5 separate regions of the Homo sapiens genome follow, and all the other regions are linked to region 1. The links are contacts of gene promoters, found by promoter capture Hi-C in blood cells and fetal thymus (Javierre and others, 2016). All regions are on one chromosome and are shown on one strand. The core of a region is centred on a gene start or on the middle of the fragment in contact, and the rest is flanking DNA. Distances in the headings are between cores, read along the strand shown.

Region 1 (4,880 bases), core at 1,519-4,018:
ACAATATAGGAAGCAGTGCAATGTGGTGGTTGAGTTTGGGCTGTCAAGTTGGATGGCTGCTGTCTCAGTTTGTTTTCTGTTGCTTATAACAGAATACCTGAAACTGGGTCACTTATTTATTAGTTTGTTTTTTAATTAATTTATTTTTTGGATACAAAGTCTTGCTCTGTCTCCCAGGCTGGAGTATAGCGGTACTCCAAACCTACACCTCATTAGTTCAAGCGATTCTCCTGCCTCGGCCTCCCAAGTAGCTGGGATTACAGGTGTGCACCACCATGCCTGGCTAATTTTTTGTATTTTTAGTAGAGATGGGGTTTCGACATGTTGGCCAGGCTGGTCTCGAACTCCTGGCTTCAAGAGATCCACCTGCTTCGGCCTCCCAAAGTGCTAGGATTACAGGTCTAAGCCATCACACCAAGCCTGGTTTATTTATTTATTTAGTTAGTTTTTGAGACAGGGCCTCACTCTGTCACTCAGGCTGGACTGCAGTGGCACAATCTTGGTTCACTGCAACCTCCGCCTCCCGGGTTCAAGTGATCGATCCTCCCACCTCAGCTTCCTGAGTAGCTGGGACTACAAGCCCATACCACCATGCTCAGCTAATTTTTGTATTTTTAGTAGAGACGAGGTTTTGCCATGTTGGCTAGGCTGTGGGGTAATTTATTTTAAAAAAGAAATTTATTTTTTGCAGTTATGGATGCTGTGAAGTCCAAGGTTAAGGACTGCCTCTGGGTTGCATCTGAACTCCTTCTTGCTGGAGGGGACTCGCTGTGATGTTCCAAGGCGTGGCAGGAAATCACATGGCCAGGATGCTGAGACTGCTAACATGCTATCCTTAAGTCTCTTTGCCTTTTCTTTAAAGCCACTAGTTCCCCTCCCATGATAACCTATTAATCCATGAATAGATTAATTTATTTATGAGGGCAGAACCCTCATGATCCAGTCACCTCTTGAAGGCCCCACTTCTAATGAGGATTAAGTTTCAGCCACTTTAGGGATTAAGTTTCAACATGAATTTTGTAAAAGGTGAAAGATTTATGCGATATGAAGAGAAACTAGAGTGACAACATGAATTTTGAAGGGGACAGTCAAACCATAGCAACTGGGATCTGAATCCTGACTTTACCACTTGCTAAATAGACAAATTCCTTAATCTCTATAACTCTGTTTCCTTTTTTTTTTTTTTTTTTTTGGTGAAATAGTTATAATGAAAGTGCTTACATTCTTGGGTTAATGTGAAGATTAAACAAGGTAATGAATATTACATTTCTTGAATATTTATAGTAAACATTCAAGAAATGTTTTGACTCTAGAAGTTACAATAAATCAATTATGAAATAACAAATTAGCATTTGATGCTAAATGTTGGGAAATTTGGGGCAGGTAAACTCTAAAGTGGATTGGAATAGGTAATTTCTAGTAAGGTGGAAGCAGGGTGGATAGGATGAAATGATTAAAAAATGAGAACTACTATGAGTTAGAGTTGTATCATTTCTCCATATAACTTGAATCTTTATACTTCAAACATTTGCACATTACATGTATATTTGTACATATAACACATACTTGTATATATATTCCCTATTACTATAATAGTATTTATTAAGAATAATGATGAATATTGTGCCGGGGAGTCCTCTAATTATGGCTTAAAAAGAAATCTTTCAGCTTGGGCAACATGGCGAAACCCCATCTCTACAAAAAAATACAAAAATTAGCTGGGTGTGATGGTGCACGCCTGTAGTCCCAGCTACTTACTGAGGCAGGAGATCGCTTGAACCTGGGAGGTCAAGGCTACAGTGAGTCGAGATTTCACCACTGCACTCCAGCCTGGGACACGAAGTGAGACCCTGTTTCAAAAAAAAAAAAAATTTAACAGAGTAAGAACCTATACTTTAACTGGAGGGCGATGTGAGGAGTCAAAATAATTGATTAATCAATTATGTCCTCAGCATTGAAAGTCATTGTTTTTGTCTGGAGATGTGTAAAACGTACACTTTGATCTCCAGTTGTTTATAGTCTACTTGGGAATATAAATCTAACAAGAAATATGTAATAACAATAATAACAGCTAACATTGTTGAGTACTGTGTACCGGGCATTGTACTGAGTACATTATATAAATTATTTTACTTAATCCTCATAACCATCAGAGTAGGAAGATTTCATCTTTTTTCCCTCTTTTTATAGTTGGAACTGAGGCTTAGATGTGTGCAAATAAGTGGCAAGGTTCAGATTCAAAATCAGCTAAATTTTATTTGAAGCCTAAAACACTTAACCCACCTACCTTTTATCTACTAAGCCTGTTAGTTCAAAGATTACCTGAAGGTAAATTTTATCAGGCCAGCTTTGGATCTGGGGGGAAAAAATGAAGGTAAATTTTAACTTGAATCGATCTAGACTGTTTATAATGGAATCTGTTGCCTAGCATAAGTTAAGCATGTTGAGGTCACAAAGGATAAGAAATTACCCTTAAGGGATGAAAATTCTTTAGAATAGAATGCAGTAGGCCCACGCAAACAACAACGTGTATAAATAGCTTAAATTAGCCTGTTTTTGCCTAAGTACATTAACTCAAAAGGAAACTCGGTTTAAGAAGTTCACTCCAAAAATAGTGCAAGAAGCATCACTGGTCCATAAAGAGGGGTGGAGTGGGTTACGTCATTTCAGCACCTTTTAAGGTAAAGGAGGAGGGAATCCTCTTGAACTCATTAGCCAATCAGGTTCTGAAGACACTTCCCAAGGCGACTTCCTGTCTCTCCACTTTCTTTCCCTCTCCGTTTTGGTGGGCTGGTGAGTGTGCGCTTAATTTTGCTCTCTAATTGTTTTGAATTTCTCTTCCATTTGAGTTATATACCCAGGTGGCAGGCCTTTATTTCAAGTCGGCATAGGAGTGTGTGTGAGTCGCAAGGAGATTAATTTCGGCTGTGTGGAGGTTGGGAGAAGGCAGTGAAATGCTCTTCCTGGCTTGTTTCCACGTGGGCCTCTGCAGTACTGGGTTTGCCTTCCGTCTCCGAGTCCTGGTGACCCAGGAACAATAGACTGTGCTTCATGTGCACAGTGCGTGTGTTCTTGGAAAACGCCGGCTTCATTTTGCTTGGCGGGAAAGATATTATCATCCTAATGCTGTTTTGATTTATATCTCCCTGGGTGAGGTCAGATTTCGGGAGAAGGCGTTCAGCTCAGTAGAGTTTAATTCTCCGGTGAGTGTCTAGAGGGCCCAGGTCCTTACTGGGTTTGTGGAAGCTGCAGCGTACCTTGTCTTTCTCCTGGCCTTCGCTCAGATCATTTCGGCTTTCTTGGTGAACCTGGGCAGCAAACTCTGAAGACAGATAAGCCTTAAAAGGAGCTCCTAATTTTTAATGTTGCCACTGTGGTGATTGTGTCCTTAAAAGCTATGGAAAAAGATTAGGGACCTTAGTTCAGGGCAAGCCTCTAGATTTAAATTCCAGCGCCACAGTTTACAGCTCTGGTGACCTTGGGAGAAGCAGTGAGCCATTCCGAGGCTTAGCTTTCCAAGATCAGATAAAATATATAAAAACTAGGCTCTAGTTGGTGTGTAATAAATGTTAGGTACCTTTAGAAGTAAGCAGTACTTATTTATTTACAGCAAGTATTTTGGATATCTGTTTTCTCATAAAAAGTTTGCTTAGTGACCTTCAATGTCATTTCACTGAATTCCTTTCTTTTGGTACATGTTAATTTTAATGTGATGTTTGTGTTGGATATTCTTATAGGCAGAAAGTGTGAGAAAGACAAATAATAAACCAGTTAATCGAATGTAGTAATAGGTATTTGTAGGCCTCCCATAATTTTTATAATTCTCAAGCATTGTTAAAATTTATTTTTTGGGGCATGGCGGCGCATGCCTGTAATCCCAGCTACTCGGGAGGCTGAGGCAGGAGAATCGCTTGAACCCGGGAGGTGGAGGTTGCGGTGAGCCGAGATCGCGCCATTGCACTCCAGCCTGGGCAACAAGAGCGAAACTCTGTCTCAAAAAAAAAAAAAAAAAAAAAAAAATATATATATATATATATATATGTATACACATCATATATATATATATTTTTGAATAGGTAATACATTCACATGGTTCAAAATTCAAAAGATATCAAAGTTTCTTATCCCCTTCCCTAAGCCATCCAATTCCTCTCCCTCATAACAGTGTTACTAAGATATTTTATGCATATAAGCAAATATGTGTAGGTATCCTTCCCTTTTACTATACCTACTCTACTATGTGTCTTACTTTTTCCACTTAAGTTCCATGAGTAGAGTGTTCACATTCTTCATAATGGTAACATAGTATTCTTTAAAAATTATTTTTTTTAAAAAATATATTTTTTCAGTAGGTTTTCAGGGTATAATGGTAACTCAGTATTCTAATTTATGTACCTACTATAATTTATTTAGCTTTTATCAGTAGGTATTCAGATAGTTTATGATCTTGATATTTCCCCCTCAAATGAATAACCTTGTAAATCAGTCAGTTGGCATAAAGGCATTTCAATTGGGTTTTGGTATATTCTTGTTTAAAAGGACTCTAGATATTTTGCAGTGCTTCCTATTTATATTTATTTTGTACACGGTGGTGATTAGAAACCAATCAATACTCTAAACTTGATTGAGCAATAAAGGATTTTCTACCGAAAGGAAAATCATCTTGATGGCTTTTATGTGAATATATCTTTGCCCACTTTGGTTTGAGTGGGGATGGTTTATCTTGTTATGAGCATGTGTTTAATGCTGGGAAGGAGTGACAGCAGTGGCCCAGAACAACCAAGTCATCTTTGTATTCACAGGGGCAGAAAGGGCATGCTTTCAGTGTTTACTTAGAAAATGTGTGCTGGATATGCCCCTGAACTCATGGTGTTGAGGGC
Region 2 (4,724 bases), core at 1,954-4,453, 670 kb before region 1:
CATTGTAGGGGTTACTTAGATGGAAAGACAATTGGTAAGACAGGCAGGAGAAAAGCCAGTGAGTCCTGCAAGAGCCAAGTAATCATCCCAGGCATTTATTTTAATATCTAGCACCTTTCTCCCTCTCCAAGCACACTGCTTTTTAATCCCTCAACACAAGGCAGCTGGAAGGAGATAGAAGCTCAAAGAAGAGCAATAGTGTCCCTGAGGCCACACAGGGCTCGGTGTGAAAAAACAGGAACCTAATGGAGATAGGTTCCATTCTGCCTGATCTCCATTTAGCCTGGACATGTTATCGGTGGCTGATAATGGGTACTGGGAATGGGGTGGTTATGGTAAGTGTAGGAACATAATCGATCCACGTCATTTTGGCTTTTAACTTTCTTTCCTTTTAAATGCTGGGAACTGGCTCATTTTCTCAACTACAGTGGGTAAGGTGGGAGGGGAATTTTAGCAAGGTGCCATGTCTAGGGGTGTGGCTGCAACTGACAGGATGGCTAGGAGCCCTAATTCCAGAATAAAATACTGCATTCAACACTCATCCTTCCCATTCCCCATTCCACCACTTCCTGTGCCAGGTAGCATCTAGGCAACCAGGAGAAATGAAATCCAGAATGGCTGAAGGAGGGTAAAATGGGCATTTTATTACACACAGTAGCATAAATGGGATAAGAATAAAATCTGGAGCGTCTCTGTACCAATTCTCCAATTAATAGCTGCTCAACCTAAATATCTTTGTCTTAGTCCAGGGTGAGAAATGGGATCTCATGTAAAGGAAACCTGGGGTCCAGTCCAGTCCTACTGAATGCTATTTAGTCTGAGTAAAGAAATGTCTGAGGGTCAAAGCCATTTGGGAGGTCTCCCTGGGGATAGAGAGGTTGTCCTAAATAGGTCCATCAGAAAAGCCAGGAATCTCTCAGGCCCACAAGGCAATAAAGGCCATGAAGGCAAAACCAGCGGCTACACAGCTCCACTTAGCTAGAGGGGCCTCAGGACTAGCTAGCTCCCGTGGAAGAATTTCTAGGAAGGTGACATACAGGAAGGTACCAGCTGCCACACCCTCTAACACAGCCTGGGCTAAGCCCCGCCCTCCTTCAGAGTCCCCTCCAGTCACAGCCAGCCCTACGGCTAGGCCCAGGGGGGACATGAGAGCTAATAATAGTATGGAGAACACTGCCCATCGTGAGCTGGTACCTAAATGCACTAGCCGCATTCCTACACCAAACACCACAAGCCCCTTATGAGCCAGGACAGCAAGGCAGAGCTGCACGGTAGCTGCTACTGTCGGCTGCAGCCCCACAGCTAGCCCTTCAAACACTGAGTGAAAGGAGAGTGACAGCAAGAGGACAAGGGCTCGGAGGGGACCCTTTGAGGGTGAGGGTAAATGTCCATGGCTGTGGAGTTCGAAGATATGAGCCCCACCCCATTCTTCGTCCTGCACTGTCGATCCTCCAGCAGCCCCAGGACAGCACTGCAATGCCAGCGACTCCAAAAAGAAGACAAAAAAGAAGCCCAGGGAGATGATGAGCTCTCCATAGGGATACTCCATCTAGAAACAAAAAGAAGGGCTGTGAGATGGAAAGGAAGGGTAGGCAATACATTGGATGGACATGGAATTGGGAGATTGAAGAGAATGAGAAAATGTGGTAACAGAACACAAAAAAGGGTAGGGGAAATGAAGCCAAGAGTAGACATGGCCATGCAACAACAAGAATGCCAGAGTGGGCCGGACACAGTGGCTCATGCCTGTAATCCTAGCACTTTGGGAGACTGAAGTGGGCAGATCACTTGAGGTCAGGAGATTGAGACCAGCCTGGCCAACATGATGAAACCCCGTCTCTACTAAAAATACAAAAACTAGCCAGGTGTGGTGGCACGTGCCTGTAATCCCAGCTACTCAGGAGGCTGAGGCAGGAAAATCACTAGAACTCGGAAGGCAGAGGTTGCAGTGAGCCGAGATTGTGCCACTGTACTCCAGTCTGGGCGACAGAGAGATTTCATCTCAACAAACAAACGAAAAACAACAACAACAAAAGACTGCCAGAGGGGCTAAGGGACAGAATCTCAATAGAGTTAAAAACATGGGCAAATGATGTGAGGTATATCAGAGGATCCAGGGAAAGAATGAAAGAGTAAAACAAGGGCTTTCCCTGGCATTCTATAAACTCAAAAGGATTGGATTTGCTCCTCTTTTCCTCTACGATGTCTGAGCTAGGGAGCAGAAGGGATTCTTGGTACTCCTCATGTATTCCTCTCAAAAGGGTCTGGATATGAAAGGCCTCTCTGGTTCTCCTCACTCTCCAGATAGGGGATGGTGGGAGGTACTTACATGAGCTGAATCAGCATCACCAGAAGAATTTCTCTCACTTGCTGATCTGTTCTAAGAAGAAAGCAGCAGAAATTAGATGTGGGATGGAGCAGCACAGCTTCCTGTGCTGTCCCTTCAGCAATTCTGTTTTCCTTAAAGCCTAATCTGACTTGCTTTCACCATCCCACACAAGAGCTGTCATTTTCCTTGTCGTTCCACCCATGTCCTTGGCTCCATCACTTTCCCGCTCTCTTCCCTTTGTCCTGTTTATCATTTTGGCCTCATAGACCTGCGGCTTGAAATCTCTGCTCTCACCTGCACCATGAACTTCTGAATCTGTGATTCAATTTCCTCCAGGGCTTCAGCAGTCATATGCATGAACCCTGCTCCCAGGAAAACACCAGCAGAAATACAGCCCAGGAGTCTGAGGACTAGCCGGTGATGACCTAATAAAAAGCAGAAGTTACAACCCACTTGACACTGAGGAGACAGACAAAGGTGAGTAAAGAGCAGCAGGCAGCACTCAATATCCCAAGGTTGGGGATGGTGAGAGAATCAGAGCAAGGTATCAGGACAGGGTTGAGGTGAGACTCAGGCTATGGAACAAAGATGGGGTAGGGCTATACCTCTGGCTGCATCAATCTGGAACCATTTGAAGCAGATGGGAGTAAGGCCACAGCCCAGAGTGAGAGCCAACAGGGCAAACAGGCAGCCAAGTTTTATTCCTAGTAGTTGCTCCATCTCTGGGGTGTAGGGTAAGCCCAGGAGTCAGAATGACAAGGGAGCTGTAATCTTTGGAGCAGGAGTGGTATCTTAGGTGGTCAACACTGGAGTGTCCACTCTCGTGAGTTTCAGGAGGCTGTTGGTATCTTCTTTCTGTGTTGCTTCTGCTTCTGCAGCATTGCAGAGCTGACAGATCCTGCCCCAGCTTCTAGCCCTCCCCCTGCATGGAGGCCCCTCCCCTGGTTCACGCCTTCCTGAGCTTGGAAACCAGAAACTCCAGACTCCCTGCCAGGCACAGCCCAGTGGCGTCTTCTCCTCCTCTTCAATGGCATGACTAATCCAAGAGCTACGGATAGTCTTAGTTCATGTGCTTGGGGTTGGTCTAATCCAAAATAGGAAAGTCTATGGTAGCTGCTTCCCAGCTATTTTGTACTGGGGACAATCTGGTCCTGTCTCACTCAGGACGTTTGATCTAAGCCTTCCATACCCTCTCCACCTCATCCCAAGTCTTATAGGTTGCAATGCTGATACTTGAACCACCCGCTTTCAGAGATTTGGGGCCACCTGGAGGTAAAGAGGTGGGGCTGAGAGGTGGTGCTGGTGCTACTCTGTGGGAACTAGTACCCACATGAGGGAACTACCCTTTCCTGTAACCCCAGAAAAATAGCTCCAGGCATGGAAATGTCTAGTGGTAAGTTGATTTGTTTTTTTTCTTTCTCTTTTGATTGGGATCAGTTTTGAGAGGAATGAGTTGAGATGTCTGGTATTACAACATTTATACTGTTACAACTTCTAACTGTGCCTGTTTCCTGGTAAGAACTGTGGAAAAAAAGACATTTAAGGTTTAAGACAAAGGAAGCTGCTCTAGCCCTGAAACAGCAAGGCTTAGGGGAAAACAGAAATGAACTGAGTGAATGGGAGGATTCTACCTGGATATAGAGAGGTGGGGGTAGAAGATTCAGTTCTGATGGGAATCACTCTTGATGGAAATGTCTGGGGCATTTCCCATACATACTCTAGGGTAGCTGAGGGACCCTGGGAAAGACAGAAGGGAAGGCGTTAGTACAAGAGGCCAGGCAGCTGCTGATTCCCCTATTCAGGTGGCCCACATAACAACCCTGAGACCTGTTGAGCCAGTTCTCAGAGCTCTGGAGGCAGCTTTCCTTGCTACTCCAGATTATTTTCCTAGGGAAGTCCTGGCCTCTGGTAGAAGCAGTATTCTTACAGTGTTACTGGATGATTCTTACAGTGTTACTGGTCCTGCTGCTTGTTCTTGTGGTCCGGTAATGAGATGCAGACAGACAGACTGGGAAAGACGGGAGTTTATTTCTGCAACTGATTACAGGGAGGTCGGAGTAGCACACCAGACCAACTCAAAGTTACAAGCTTTTCTTTAGCTTTTATATACAATTCAAGCTCTATGACTACCTGCGGGAATGTTTCCTAATTAATCTAAACTAGGGGTCTGCAGGTAGAAGTTTTTTTTTTGTTTTTTAGAAACAAAGCAATAAACGATTTGATTTAGAAATAAAACCATTCCCATTATTGCAGCATTATCATCAGTCACTGATTGCTAATGCTGTTTACGCTTCTTTTTCCCTGGGATGTCTGAACCTGGCAACTTTTCTTCCTGTTCTTCTATTTTCTTAGCAAACCCACATCAAGGGTGTCTGTTCGCGTTTGAAATTCATCG
Region 3 (4,847 bases), core at 457-2,956, 560 kb before region 1:
CTCCAGGACATGGAACTTTTGGGAAAGATGTCCACCTCTCCTCCAGTCAGCATTACAATCTGTCCTTACTGCTGTCGGAACAATTTATCTTATTGCACATTTGACTCAAACCCTGGTTCCACCTCTATTACGATTGCTAATAGCTGGAGACTTGATGTGCCCATTTAAAAGAAATATCCCTGAGGCTAAACTTTTCTTTATCTTGGTTTCACCTTATTTATAGCATTCTTGACTTTTTCTACTTTCTTCTTTTCTATTTTCTATCATAACGTTCAATTCTATCAAAATTTATCATTCATAAATCATAATGAAGCACGTGCATTTTCAGCTGATTCACTGCAGCTCTTTTTTTCTTGGGATAGAAATCATGTCAATAAAAACCATAGTCGGACCATAAAGCATCAAATGGGACCTCAATATCAAATTGGGCTCAATTCTGGAATACAACTAAAACAAGTGGAGATCTATACACAAGTTATAGGTTGGTGTTGGGGGAGGAGTCAGTGGATGGAAAATTGCTTAGAGGAGATATTAAGGCTAGGGAGACCAATGCTAAGTTGACTCAATTGGATTTTTTTTTAAGGCAGGCCTGGAATCAGGTATCACATGAAGGATGATGGGGGAATTAAGGAATTTGGTCAGATATTGAGGGGGAGAGATTCATGATAAACCCAAATCTCTAGAGCAGATTGTCACTAAATGACAGCAGAGCGGCCGAGGAAGACACACAGACACTTCCAGATGAATTTGCAAAGCAGTTTATTGCAGGGTTCACAAGGGACTTCAGCTCAGGAAAGCTGAAGGGGTATGGAGACTGATGAGGACAGTTGCTGATACCCAGAGTACATGGAGGGATGGGATCTTGGCTATGATTGAGGAGCTTGGCAGATGAGTGATGATGAGGACTGCTGATACAGGAGCTTAGATGGTGGTATCCAGGTGAACTGGAACCACAGGATACCGTGGAGAATCCCGTGGATCTCTGTTGTCACATGCAACTACATAGAACCTCCTTCCTGGTCTGTCTGCATACGTGCAGTTTGAAATATTCTGTGCACCTGGATTTATGAGGTCACAGTGGAGTAAAGGCACCCGGAATCTACTCCGATGACAATTGTTGAGAGTTCTGTTATGAGGGCAGCGTATACTTTGGTTACCACAAACATTAACTACATTAGCAAAAGTTGTACGAAGAAAAGTATTTTGGTTTTTGCAACGCCATCGATAATTGTTAATTGCCCGCATTGCAATGGTGCATCGAGGGGGGTTCAGACTGATGTGCTGGATGGCAAACCACTGAGCCCTCGTAAACTGTGGGGGTCTGGCATGGAGTGAGCCCTCCACACCCATAAGCCCCAACAGAAGAAGCAGACAAATTTGGGAAGTGAACAGTTTTGGAACCATGTTTCCTGTAAGAAAAGAAGAGAAGTAACTACTCCCCGATCCGGTCTCGGTTATGACACACTCTATAGTGTCTCAACCCACAGGCCCCTCTGCTGCCACTCTGGGGTCGCATTTCCTTTTCTTCCTGTCCCCAAAGTGTGCCACATCTCCTAAGCACTAACTTCAGCTCACCTCTCCCTCAGGTGCTGCCCTGTCGCTGCCCCTCCTGTCCCAGCTCTGGGGATTGTTGACTTACCCAGTCTCTGAGCTGTGGCTCCTGTGAGAACTGATCCAGCTGGTTGTTCTGGGGTTCAGGGGCAGCTGGTCTCCCCTACTTGGAACTGTTTAAATAAAGCTTCCCTTGGTGGGTCTGGCCATGCAGAAACCCACAGATTGACACATGGTCCACTTGTGCAATCATCCTTTTTATTTGATGACTTGGCTGAGCAACGGATACCCAAGGACAGCCCTGCTGCTCTTTCTGCTATACGGACTCTAATTCCAAGTCATCCTGTGTTAGACAGAGTTTTGCCGGTGGGATCTGGACTCTGGGTGAAAACTATACGCTGCCGGCAGAATGACCACAGATTTTATAACTGTCCTCTGGCAGGCCCCTAAATGACTAAATGACACGAAGGCAGGCATAGTAGTTAGGAGAAATAGAGCCACAGAGGGCTGTTTGCCCAGGAGAAACCCAGCTTCCCTTCCATTTTTAGTAATATCCTTGGTTCTCTCTCACATAAATGCTCTCCATCTCATCCACCACTCTTGCTGGAAACTTGAGCTATTAATTTCTTGGGGCACAAGATTCTGTAGATAATTAAAACAATCTGCTCCATACAATTGAGGAATTTTTTTCTTTACTCCTCTTGCATTGGATCCACTTTCTCTTAAGTCTTGCCCTGATTATTGATTCCACTTTGTGTAAAGTTACATAACCTAAAAACACACCGAGGACAGTTGTAAAATCTGGCAGAGGATGAATGAACATTTGGTGTCATGAAAGATTCCAACCTAGCACTCGGTATTCCTGTGATCTTTTCAGCCTATGGTATTTTCTACAAAACAGTGTGTTCTGGGGTTGTCATTCATCTTCCTGGTAAGTTTCATTTTGTGATATTAACAAGAATATGGTTCTGTATTTACAAATGAACATTTAAGGACAGAGCACTGTATTCCTGAAAGTATAGAGGTCAAGTGTACAGTTTGATACACAAAGCATACATTTATTCTTGGCCCTCAGAGAAACACAGGAAAGTACTTGTAGACATATAATTGTATTACAGTGTGATAGAGGTAATAGCATTTGTGTGAACATGGTGTCATAGGGACACTGCTGGTGAAGGAAATCACTTGGCTTGAGAAATAAGGAAAACTTCAAAAAAAAGTTTATTTCAGCAGGTCCTAAAGGATAAGCAGGGGATTTTCAGGGGATTTAGAGAAGAGATGAGCATTCTGGGCACAGGGGATGATGTGGGGAAATTGTACAGAGGTGAGAAGTGAATTGCAAAGGTAAGGCCTGGGTACTAACAGATGTTAAATCTGGTCTAGCTTTGAGATTAGAAAATGGAAAGTAGACCCTTAAATGATATAATATACCTTCCAACAGTTAATCTGCCTAATTTTTACTACCGTCCAATTTTCCTGTCATTTAGAAATGCAATAATTTTATCACTGGGGTCCTTAGGTAAATGTGGACACAATGGTGACCTGGTGAGGACTCAATGCGCAGCTAATATTGCTCTGCCTTGAAGTCCTGTTCTGGCCGACATTCATTAGCAGCTTTATCATGAGGCAAGTTTATTTTTTCATGTATATTGTGTGGAGATCATTTTTGTAGGTGATGAGAATGTAAAGGTGAATGATACGTAGAGTATCCCCTCTGTGATGCTGACAGCCACACTGGCTAGAAACATTTGCACTTAAGTGTCTATAGTATGAGGCAAAAGACATAGACTGCAGCCCCAGGGCAGGTACTTGGCTAAACAGTGCTTCTTTTCAGCATACACAGTGCTATTTATGATGTTTGGTTTGGAAGATAAAGTTTGACATTGGAATAGTTCACTAAAAGTTTTCATTACTGTCTTATCTTTAAAAATCACATGATGGTGGTTGGTGCACCATTGGTGTTGTATCAATTAGAGCTGAGTAACAGCTGCGTCTGTGGAAGGGGCTCTAGCTCAGGGCTGTTCTCTGACTCCACTCTCCCTCCTGACTTTTATCCTATCTGTTCAGTGATGACACCTGCCTGGCTCCTGAAGACATCTGTGCTTATGACATATCAGACTTATTGAAGTGTCTTAAGCAGACCATAACCTGCCCAATTTGCAACCATATTCATCCTTTAAAATTGTGGAGTTTTTTGTTTTTTGTTTTTTTTTGAGACGGAGTCTTGCTCTTGTCACCCAGGCTGGACTGCAGTGGCGTGATCTCACTGCAACCTCCACCTCCGCCTCCCAAGTTCAAGTGATTCTCCTGCCTCAGCCTCCTGAGTAGCTGGGATTACAGGCGCTCGACACAATGCCCGCCTAATTTTTGTATTTTTAGTAGAGACGGGGTTTCACCATGTTGGCCAGGCTGGTCTCAAACTCCTGACCTCAGGTAATGCGCCCACCTCGGCCTTCCAAAGTGATGGGATTACAAGTATGAGCCACTGCTCCCAGCCATAAAAATTGCATTCAGAACATGCTCATAAGGTTTTTCTGATTGTCCCTTGTGTAGATTTCCTGCGTACATTTCCAACTACCTTCATTTGCCAGCAGAAGTAGTACAAATGATCTACTTTGATATTTATGACCTTTGAGAGAAGATGTTTTATATGAAGCAGGAATAAAGTATAAGTCAACATTAAAGAAAATTATCTGTTATGATCTCTGTAATCGAAACAAAATTCTCTGTAACTTCAGCATGATTTTGTCTTGAACAGACACAAGGCACTTCACCCGGGCTCTTTATTTTATTAGCATAACTTGTCTTGCAGCCTAATTTAACGACACATTTTCAGACCTGATCCACACTTCCAATGAGAGGAATAGTCAGAATTACGCCCTAGTGTTAAGTCATTTTTTGGAAACCGATGAACATTGTAAAATATTATCCCAGACAAAGACTTCTGCATTTGTGGTAAAAACCACTGTTGAGTACACTGCATTGATCAATGTCTTTTTTGCATAGCATTTATGTGCAAAAATATAATGTTCAATGCTTGCAATTTCTTCAGCCCCAGGGTACCCTTGCAATATTTGCTCTTAACCTGCTGACAGGGAGGTACCAAACCATCGATACCTTCCTGCACACAGATTTCCCTAATGCAGCAGTGGCTATCTATGGGAAAGACAATGCACACTATTTACTAGGTTGGTGCAAAAGTAATTGCGATTTTTGCCATTAAAAGTAATACAAGATTGTCATAATAATATGGTGCAGGTTAATTAAATTGCAGCAAATGGAGTAATATTTTACTT
Region 4 (3,117 bases), core at 1-2,500, 740 kb before region 1:
GGGGACCAGAGAGGAGACCAGAGAGACTGAGTCAGCTCTCCCTGGCCCAGTTCCTCTTTCTTTTTCCTCCAGCCTCCCTGCCAGAGGGTGCCCTTCCCTCCGTAGAGGGGCGGCCCCAGTAGTGCCCCTGCCCCTCCTCCACTCCCTGCGGTGAGCTCCCCCTGGCAAGGCCTCTCCCCCTCCTCCACTCTGCAGCGAGCGGCCCCTTGGCCATGCCCCCGCCCTCTTTGCAGTGGGCGCTCTCTCTGGCAGTGCCCACTCTCGCAGCGGTGCTTCAGAGTACTCTGCAGTGAAAGTTCCCAGGGCAGTGTTCACTCCTGTTGGTGTGGGCTTCTCCTTAGCGTACCCTCCAGCGTCCAGCGCCCCAAGTTGCTGCTGCCAGGGTCCCCTAGTCCCTGCAGGGAGCTCCGGCTCGTGTTCCCTCCCCTCTGTAGCAGGAGTGCCCTGAGGCAGCCCTTCAGTTCCCTGCAGCAAGAGCTCTGGGGCACTTTCCTCCTCCGCAAACTCTGGTCGGCTCTGGCAGTGTCACGCCCCCTGGTACTGTGAGCTCCCCCCCAAGCACCCCCAACTATCCTGAGGCAGCTCTTTTTCTCTGCGGGAATTTCCCTCTTTGGCCATGCCCCGGGACCCGGCCCAGCCACAGCTGTGGCCAGTCCCCTAGGGCCGGATGGGTGGGCCTGCCTCACCGGGTTGGGGACAGGGATGGAAAATGGTGGTTCCATGCAGGTCAGTTCTCATGACCCGAGGGGCCGGGCCTCTTCCAGGGTCGCTGCAGGACCAACCCGCAGGGGTCTCCCGCGGGTAAGGAGCTCGGACCAGGAGGGGGAGGGAAGCTCCAGGAAAGGAAGGCACAGGTCAGGACAGAGGAGGGCGGGGAGCGGGGAGGTGTGTGGATTAGGGGAGAGACCCAAGGGAGGATGGGGGAGGAGGCGGAGGAGAGGAGGAAGAAAGGGTGAGGGCAATACCCGGTGGGGACAGAGCTAAACAGTCGGGCAGACAGACAAATCGAAGAAGGGGGGATGGGAGGGAGGAGAGTCCCAGAGGGGCCGAACAGTCCGAGGCAGGCTCGGGAGGCACCAGGCTGAGGACTTGGGGGCCCGGAGCGGGCTGCGCGAAGGCCGAGGGGACCCAGGGGGCTGCGACGCTGGACTCACCATGGCTCGGCGCCGGGCCGCGTCCGACGCTTGGTCGGGCGGGCGGGGCCGGGCGCGCCACCGCCTCCCTCCCGCCGCTCGTGTCTCGCCGGGTCTGGCTAAGGGACAGCTCCGGCCGCGGTGGCGGCTCGGCCCGCTCCGGCTTCCAGGCCGCGGGGCCCCGCCAGGGAGGGCCGAGACGGCCGCCCCTCCCCGCCCCGCCCTTCAGCGCCCGCCCCCGCCTCCGCGCGGGACCCCTTGCCGGGACTCTGTCTCCCGCGCCGAGATCTCTGCCGTTCCCCGGGCGTCCCCAGCCTATCCGTCCCGTTCACCGGCAACCTTCTTTCTTCTCCGCCCCGCCCTCCAGCGGGTAACCTCGACCCTGACCCTCGGAGGCCCGCCCAGCCGAGGATGCCCCTCTTTTCCCGCCACGGCCTCGCTCCCCGCGGGATCAGTTTAGCCTCGGCAAGGGATGCTCCAAAGGCTGGGGCGTGCGTGAATTCCCTTGGGCCGCCCCTTCCCAGAACTGGGGTCTTCCTGCGGCTGGAAAGCCTCCCCGCTCTAACTCGCCCGGGATCCTCTTCTCTCAACGGTTTCTAGACTTTGGCAGGACCCAGGGCTCAAATGAGACCTTCAGGCCCCTGCCTGCCTAGCAGAGAGCGGAGGGCCGGGAAATCAGGGGATTCCCCAACCCCCCGGGGGCTTGCCCGCCCTCCTTTCCCTCCATCTCCTCGGGCCTGGAATCTCTGGGCTGACAATGGGCTCCTCTGTGTTGCCTGGGGAAGGCGGGAGTGTGCGGGAGTTAGGGAGCAGCGAAGGCTTGGGATAGGGGGCGGACATCCTGGCCAAGGGGGCAGGGTTCCCGGATCGGGATGCTTATGTAGGGGCGTGCATTTCGCCGGACATTTTCTGAGTTCTCTCCTCCGTGGCCCTTCCCTTCCGCATCCCTACCTCTCTATTCGGCTAGAAGAGGGAAGGCACCAGGCCTCCAGTTCGAGGATTCGGTACTGGATGCCAGCCCCTTCCTTCTGTTGGGGTGGCTATAGAGTCCCGCAGGGCCGCTAGGGCTCGTGGCCATGGGAATGGGTGGGTATCTGGCGCAGGAGACAAAGCAGGGTGGGCTAGTTACGAAAGTTCTAGCCTCACTCCCTCATCAAACCCCGAGCGTCCCCCGACAGTGTCTGAATGAGAAAGGAAGGCCAGATGGGGGGTCTCCCAGGAGCCCGGGGGGAGGCACGGGCACGGCGGGGAGATGCCCTGCCTGGCCTCTGAGCAGGCACCGGGAAGCCCCGCAGCTCCGTGAGCTCTTCTAAAGGGTGGACGGAAGGGAGAGGAGAGGAGATCGGAAAGCCGAATAGTCCCCGGAGGGGCGTGAACGCGTGTGCCCCTGCAGCTGGAGGGCGATGATGAGAAAACGTCTGGCCTCGCCTGCAGTTCCTCGGAGGCCGGAGCCTCTGGGCAGTTGTTGGAACAGCGGGAGGGGAGGCGGGGGTGCCGCCAAGGTGACTTGCTCTTCTCTCACCTCCTCTGGACGCTAACCTCCACCTTTTTCTCCGCTCCGCTGAGCCTGGAAAAGGACAGAGCAAGTGTTCATCCTTCTTAGAGGCAAGAAGAGGCCTCTGCTCCATGCGTCAAAAAAGAACCTATGGCAACAAGCCCCGGTAACCATCTTCCCCGCACAGTTAGAGCCGTGGAGTTGGAGCTCTTTCTAACACCCGGCTAGGGGACCCTCGAGTCACCGACACTCTCCAGGTTCTCTATTACGAGGGCCCGCGAGCTAGGAGAGTGAGATTTTGCTACCCCCTGGTGTCCATTCCGTAAATACTGCCCAGGGGCGGGTTACAGGGGCCAGTGTTTAAAAAACCTTATTCACCTGTCTCAAACCTAGCTCATCTATTCTCGGTGTTGAGAGTGTCTGAACCTTTCCTCACCAGGCCTTCCATTCCTTAAACTGCAGCAAATTGTTTAGGGAACACTTGGTAGG
Region 5 (4,447 bases), core at 317-2,816, 520 kb before region 1:
GCAAAAAACACCTCTCTCTTTACTCTTCTGATTCTTTGTATCCATTGGAGGGGGAAGGTGGACTGTGTCACTGAAGACCTTTCATCTCTGAGTCACAGTAAACATCCCAAGAAAGCAGTCCAAAATGATATCCTGAGAAGTCTACTTGAAGTCAAGTAAAATAATAATTAATGTGTACAACTATATCCTAGGCTTAACCTCAAACCTGTGTAGCTAAATGGGAGAGTTAAGAGAAGGGAGAAAAGGTGAAAATCGTACTGTGTTAGCATCCGGCCACCAAATAGAGGCAAATAAAGGAGATACTTGCTTTTTAATCCTGGTGCCAAGGTCTCTGGATAGAAAAGGCTGGTGTAAGTCAGGTGTTGTGGGAGGAATTTGCCTCTGAGGGATGGACAGTGGTTCACATGGCCAGATCAGGCAGCAGATGTGTGCCGATGCTGGCGAAGCCTTCGTCCTTACAAGAGACAAGTCAAAGAGACCCGAAGTAATGAAGAGAATGCAGAGGGTGGAGCCTCCAGCAAGCACGAGTTGAGGAGTAGTCTGGGGTTGTGAAGATGGGTATTTTTACAAAAGCAACCACATTTGAATTTGTATCTTTGATGAGAATTTTTGCACACTGAGTCTTGATGTCCTCAAAAAAGAAAATACAATAATAGGAGAGCGCCCCCTGCCGGCAAGCAGTGAGCTAGGCATCTCTACCTCTGAGCCTGATTGACCCGGCTCCCCTTCCTCGGTTTAGAAGGTGCACAGAAACCTTAGCTGAGCTGCTTCTGTTTCATTCTTGAGGGCGTGGGGGTTTTCATGGCGGTCCGGATCTTCTGTGCCTGGAGTCAGCCTAGGTTCACCATGCTGCCTCTCCTCTGCATTTTTCCTCCCCTCCAACTTCGCCCTCAGTCTCTCTCCAATCTCAACTTTGCCACACTTTTCAAGAGGCAATTTATTTTCACCAAATTTCAGGGTTCTCAAAAGACAGTAAGATTAAGTTTGGCTTCATACACTTCCTCCTTTCCATTCTGCAGATATCCTAAGGAATTGCAAAAGGGTCTGGCTCTCTGCTTGGAACTAGAGGCATGAGGAAAATACAAAGAGAAGAAAGAAAAAGTAGTATCTCAGCAAACTATCCTGCCTCACATATGTTCTTTAATTTTCTTGCTGGAAAATCTCTGGGCCCTGTCTCTATGCTCTTTCCATCTCAGGGTCCAGAATAGGGAGAATATGAAATTATATCCATGTGGGTGTAATATCAAATTTACCTTGAACCCCAGTATTAGATCCTGACTTGCAAAGACAATCTCTGAAAAGGTAAAGGGGTCTGTATGTTGGGCGCCTCAGTTGCTCTTTCCTGGCCTAACTTAAAGAAGGGCTTTGAAGTGTGTGTGGTGTGTGTGTGTGTGAGAGAGAGAGAGAGAGAGAGAGAGAGAAAGAGAGAACCTTAACTGGGAAAGGGGCTGATTTTTTTGATGATTATCTCTTCCTCAGTCTCAATGTGGATGGGGAAATTTCCACTGTGTGGTAGCATTCGTGAGAACCACCCTTTCTACTCATTGCCAAAAGTTAGAAGTTATTGTTGTACAGATTTTTGTTAGTTGGGAAACAAGATAATTCTATAAAAATGTGGAATATTTCTATTAGAATCATTTAAAAAACAAATGCCCTTAGACTGTGTCTTTTTGCTCTCACTACTATGTGTGATCATGAATTCACAAACACTCCTGATTTTTCTGAAGTAGTGGTCTACAAACTCTAACATAAACCAGGATCTCCTGGATTAGCATTCTCTAATAAGCTGGAAGTTTATTAGGTAAAAACACAAAAATACGTGAGGCCTACTACTAATAATACAAGTCAGAGTATCTCCAGATTATTGACTCTGGGATGTCCAAGTCAGTACACATTGTTGAAGACAGAAACACACTTGTGCTACAATAAAATGTGAGCCATGTAATACAATAGATTAGGGGCCAGCCTGGCCAATATAGCAAAACCCCATCTCTACTAAAAATACAAAAAATTAGCCGGGTGTGGTGGCGCATGCCTGTAATCCCAGCTACTCAGGAGGCTGAGGCAGGAGAATCGCTTAAACCTGGGAGGCGAAGGTTGCAGTGAGCCAAGATCGCGCCACTGCACTCTAGTCTGGGTGACAGAGTGAGACTCCATCTCAAAAAAAAAAAAATAGATTAGGGGATATGAAATATCTGAAAGGAAGAAAAGGAGCCAAGAAAAGGAAAGGAGGAAAGAAGAATACAAGGGGATACAAACAATAAGCACATGAGAAGATGAAGTTTCCAGTGTGGCAGATACTCTCTTCCTTCCCTAATGCCTGGAATCTGGCTGTGCGTGGAGAAAGATGAAAGGCTCTGTCTAGTGAGTCCACTGGACTAGAAGCTCCCTGGGACTAGGTTATGTGTTTTGCATCTCCAGTACCTAGCGGTCTGCCTGGCACAGAGTCTATGCTCAGAAAGTGTTTCATTGATGAATGGAGAGACAGGTAGTACATTAGCATGCTGAGTTTGCAAAAAGTCATTAAATGTGTAAATTAGAATGTTCTACCAATTATATGTTATACTACCCTCTGTTCTATATCTCAGTGATCGTCTGTCTGAATTTCCCGCTTTGAACACTAGATGTCCTCTGGGACTGACACCATGACCAGACCCTAGCGATTCAAATCTCTCACCAGCGCTCTCCTGCTGAGGGCTGGGTCCTGTTTCAGAACTTCTGTCAATGGACTGCTCACTGAAACATTACCCTGGCTCCCACGTGACTTATAGCGTTAGCCAGTGCTTGAAACCTACTCCCCCACTGGGTTGGTTCTTCTAGAATTCTGATATTAGCCTCAATCTACTAGGCATTTTACTTTGGACTGCTGACCATCCACCTTGGGAATGAGCTCTTTAGCCAGTTCAGTCAATCCTACCAAGAACTGGCTTCTTCCTTTACTCAGTGACCTATCTCAAGGGTTTCCATGGGACCAAGAGTCATGTGGGAGCATGACAGAGGGAGTGTTGGAAGATGCATTTGTATCTTCAGTATCCTAATGCATCCTCTGGAAATTGGTGGTGTGATGGAATGTTTGATTCTAATTCATACTAATGTATGGCTACGATAGTTACCATGCCTTTACAAAGGGCAATCTGAAAAGTCACTAGGACCTTCTAAGAGAGTTAAAATGGAGCCATTTCTCTCACTTGGTTTGTGCTTCTTTTCCTCTCCTGAATAGTGAATTTCAAAGTTCTTTCATTCCTCTTTACTTTAGAAGACAATGTTGTAGGACCCCTAATCCCGCAAGGTGCTGTAAAGGGGGAGAAAGGGGTCAAGTAAATTTACTGATTAACATTAGTCAATAGTTACCACCTTATGAGGCTTTAAAAAGAATAACCAAAATAGACACTGAAACCATTCTGAGGAGGTAAAAGTAAATAAAGCCGTCTCCCCCGTGACCTTCATTTCATTTCCATTTTGTTCTCCTGATAGTGATTTTTAAGGGTCCCTAATCCTCTTGTATCCTAGAGGGCCAATACTACAGGAACACTGATCCTACTGGATGCTCTGTTGAGGAGAAAGAGTGATTCTTCCATAGGACCCATTCAAATACATTTAGGAAATCTGCTTCCCGTAGTTGGTTCTTAGATATTTACAGTGCCTCTTAGAACATGAAAAGCTCTGTAATAAATTCTATTTATGTCAACTTTTTTCTTTATTTACAAATGTTTAGGCCCTGGAAGACCTTTCCCTATAACTCCTGATAAACTTTGGGAAATGCTCTTGAAATATTTCATGATCCCCTTTGGAGGCTGCAGTTCTTTCCCTCCTCATGTTTGCTGTTCAGTCCAGTGTAATCTTGGTGTCACACTAGGTAGTGAACCTGACATTACACACGATGCCAGTATTTCATAAGAGCCATGACAGCTGAAAGCTTTCAAATGCCAATTGAAAGCTGGTGCCATTTACTTTCACAGCACAAAGATCCACAAAGATAACAGGAAAATTTCTTTTCCTTTTTTTTTTTTTTTTTTTTTGAGACAGGGCCTCACTGTCATCCAGACTGATGCAGTGGCATGATCTTGGCTGACTGCAACCTCCACCTCTTGGGCCCTAGGGATCCTTTCACTTCAGCATCTCAAGTAGCTGGGACTACAGGTGTGCGCCATCACACCTGCTAATTTTTGTATTTTTAGTGGAGATGGGGTTTCCCTATGTTGCCCAGGCTGGTCTTGAACTCCTAGACTCAAGTGATCCTCCCACCTCAGCCTCCCTAAGTGCTGGGATTATAAGCATGAGCCACTGCACCCGGCCAAAAATAACGTGAAAAATTATTTTAGTTCTCTTTCACTCAGATAAAGCATGAAAGCTGATTACTTTTCTTCTTCTGATAAAGGTCTCTATGCTTCTTCCGAGAGAGAGATTTTGGAACAATGGGAAGAGTCTGAATTGAGTCTTTCTGTCC

The links. Contacts are between HindIII fragments. The CHiCAGO score rates a contact against its expected background, and 5 or more counts as called.
Region 2: a contact is called between the fragment with the promoter of SLC39A2 here and the fragment with the promoter of CCNB1IP1 in region 1, in 1 of 17 cell types (monocytes). The highest score is 6.9, in monocytes.
Region 3: the fragment with the promoter of RNASE3 here is called in contact with the fragment with the promoter of CCNB1IP1 in region 1 in 8 of 17 cell types (neutrophils, total B cells, M2 macrophages and 5 more); the score reaches 12.2 in neutrophils.
Region 4: the fragment with the promoter of ARHGEF40 here is called in contact with the fragment with the promoter of CCNB1IP1 in region 1 in 1 of 17 cell types (monocytes); the score reaches 5.6 in monocytes.
Region 5: a contact is called between a fragment that was not itself captured here and the fragment with the promoter of CCNB1IP1 in region 1, in 15 of 17 cell types (neutrophils, total B cells, naive CD4 T cells and 12 more). The highest score is 15.6, in neutrophils.

What each region holds. Positions count from the first base shown.
Region 1 is chr14:20,331,167-20,336,046 of GRCh38, reverse strand. CCNB1IP1 (cyclin B1 interacting protein 1) reads left to right here and starts at 2,768. Exons shown (of 7, transcript NM_021178.5): 1 at 2,768-2,793. RefSeq lists an enhancer at 2,689-2,998. The HindIII fragment of the contact is 11,464 bases long and covers 1-4,880 here.
Region 2 is chr14:20,997,772-21,002,495 of GRCh38, reverse strand. It overlaps SLC39A2 (solute carrier family 39 member 2), which reads right to left and starts at 3,203. Exons shown (of 4, transcript NM_014579.4): 1 at 2,935-3,203; 2 at 2,624-2,754; 3 at 2,330-2,380; 4 at 625-1,549. The coding sequence starts at 3,049. The coding sequence ends at 917. It overlaps LOC101929718 (a long non-coding RNA gene), which reads left to right and starts at 3,333. Exons shown (of 4, transcript NR_110139.1): 1 at 3,333-3,722; 2 at 4,682-4,724. RefSeq lists an enhancer at 1,945-3,144. The HindIII fragment of the contact is 5,548 bases long and covers 1-4,419 here.
Region 3 is chr14:20,888,244-20,893,090 of GRCh38, reverse strand. RNASE3 (ribonuclease A family member 3) reads right to left here and starts at 1,706. Exons shown (of 2, transcript NM_002935.3): 1 at 1,640-1,706; 2 at 743-1,409. The coding sequence starts at 1,404. The coding sequence ends at 922. All of the region lies in intron 1 of LOC100507513 (a long non-coding RNA gene), which reads left to right. The HindIII fragment of the contact is 4,045 bases long and covers 1-1,740 here.
Region 4 is chr14:21,068,437-21,071,553 of GRCh38, reverse strand. ARHGEF40 (Rho guanine nucleotide exchange factor 40) reads right to left here and starts at 1,250. Exons shown (of 24, transcript NM_018071.5): 1 at 1,155-1,250. The coding sequence starts at 1,157. It also overlaps a transcript of NDRG2 not described here. RefSeq lists silencers at 1-227, 1,018-1,087, 1,098-1,317, 2,853-2,952 and an enhancer at 1-526. The HindIII fragment of the contact is 9,571 bases long and covers 1-3,117 here.
Region 5 is chr14:20,854,051-20,858,497 of GRCh38, reverse strand. No RefSeq gene overlaps it. Among named protein-coding and RNA genes, the nearest start is that of RNASE3, 35 kb to the left of the region's middle. The HindIII fragment of the contact is 4,704 bases long and covers 1-3,918 here.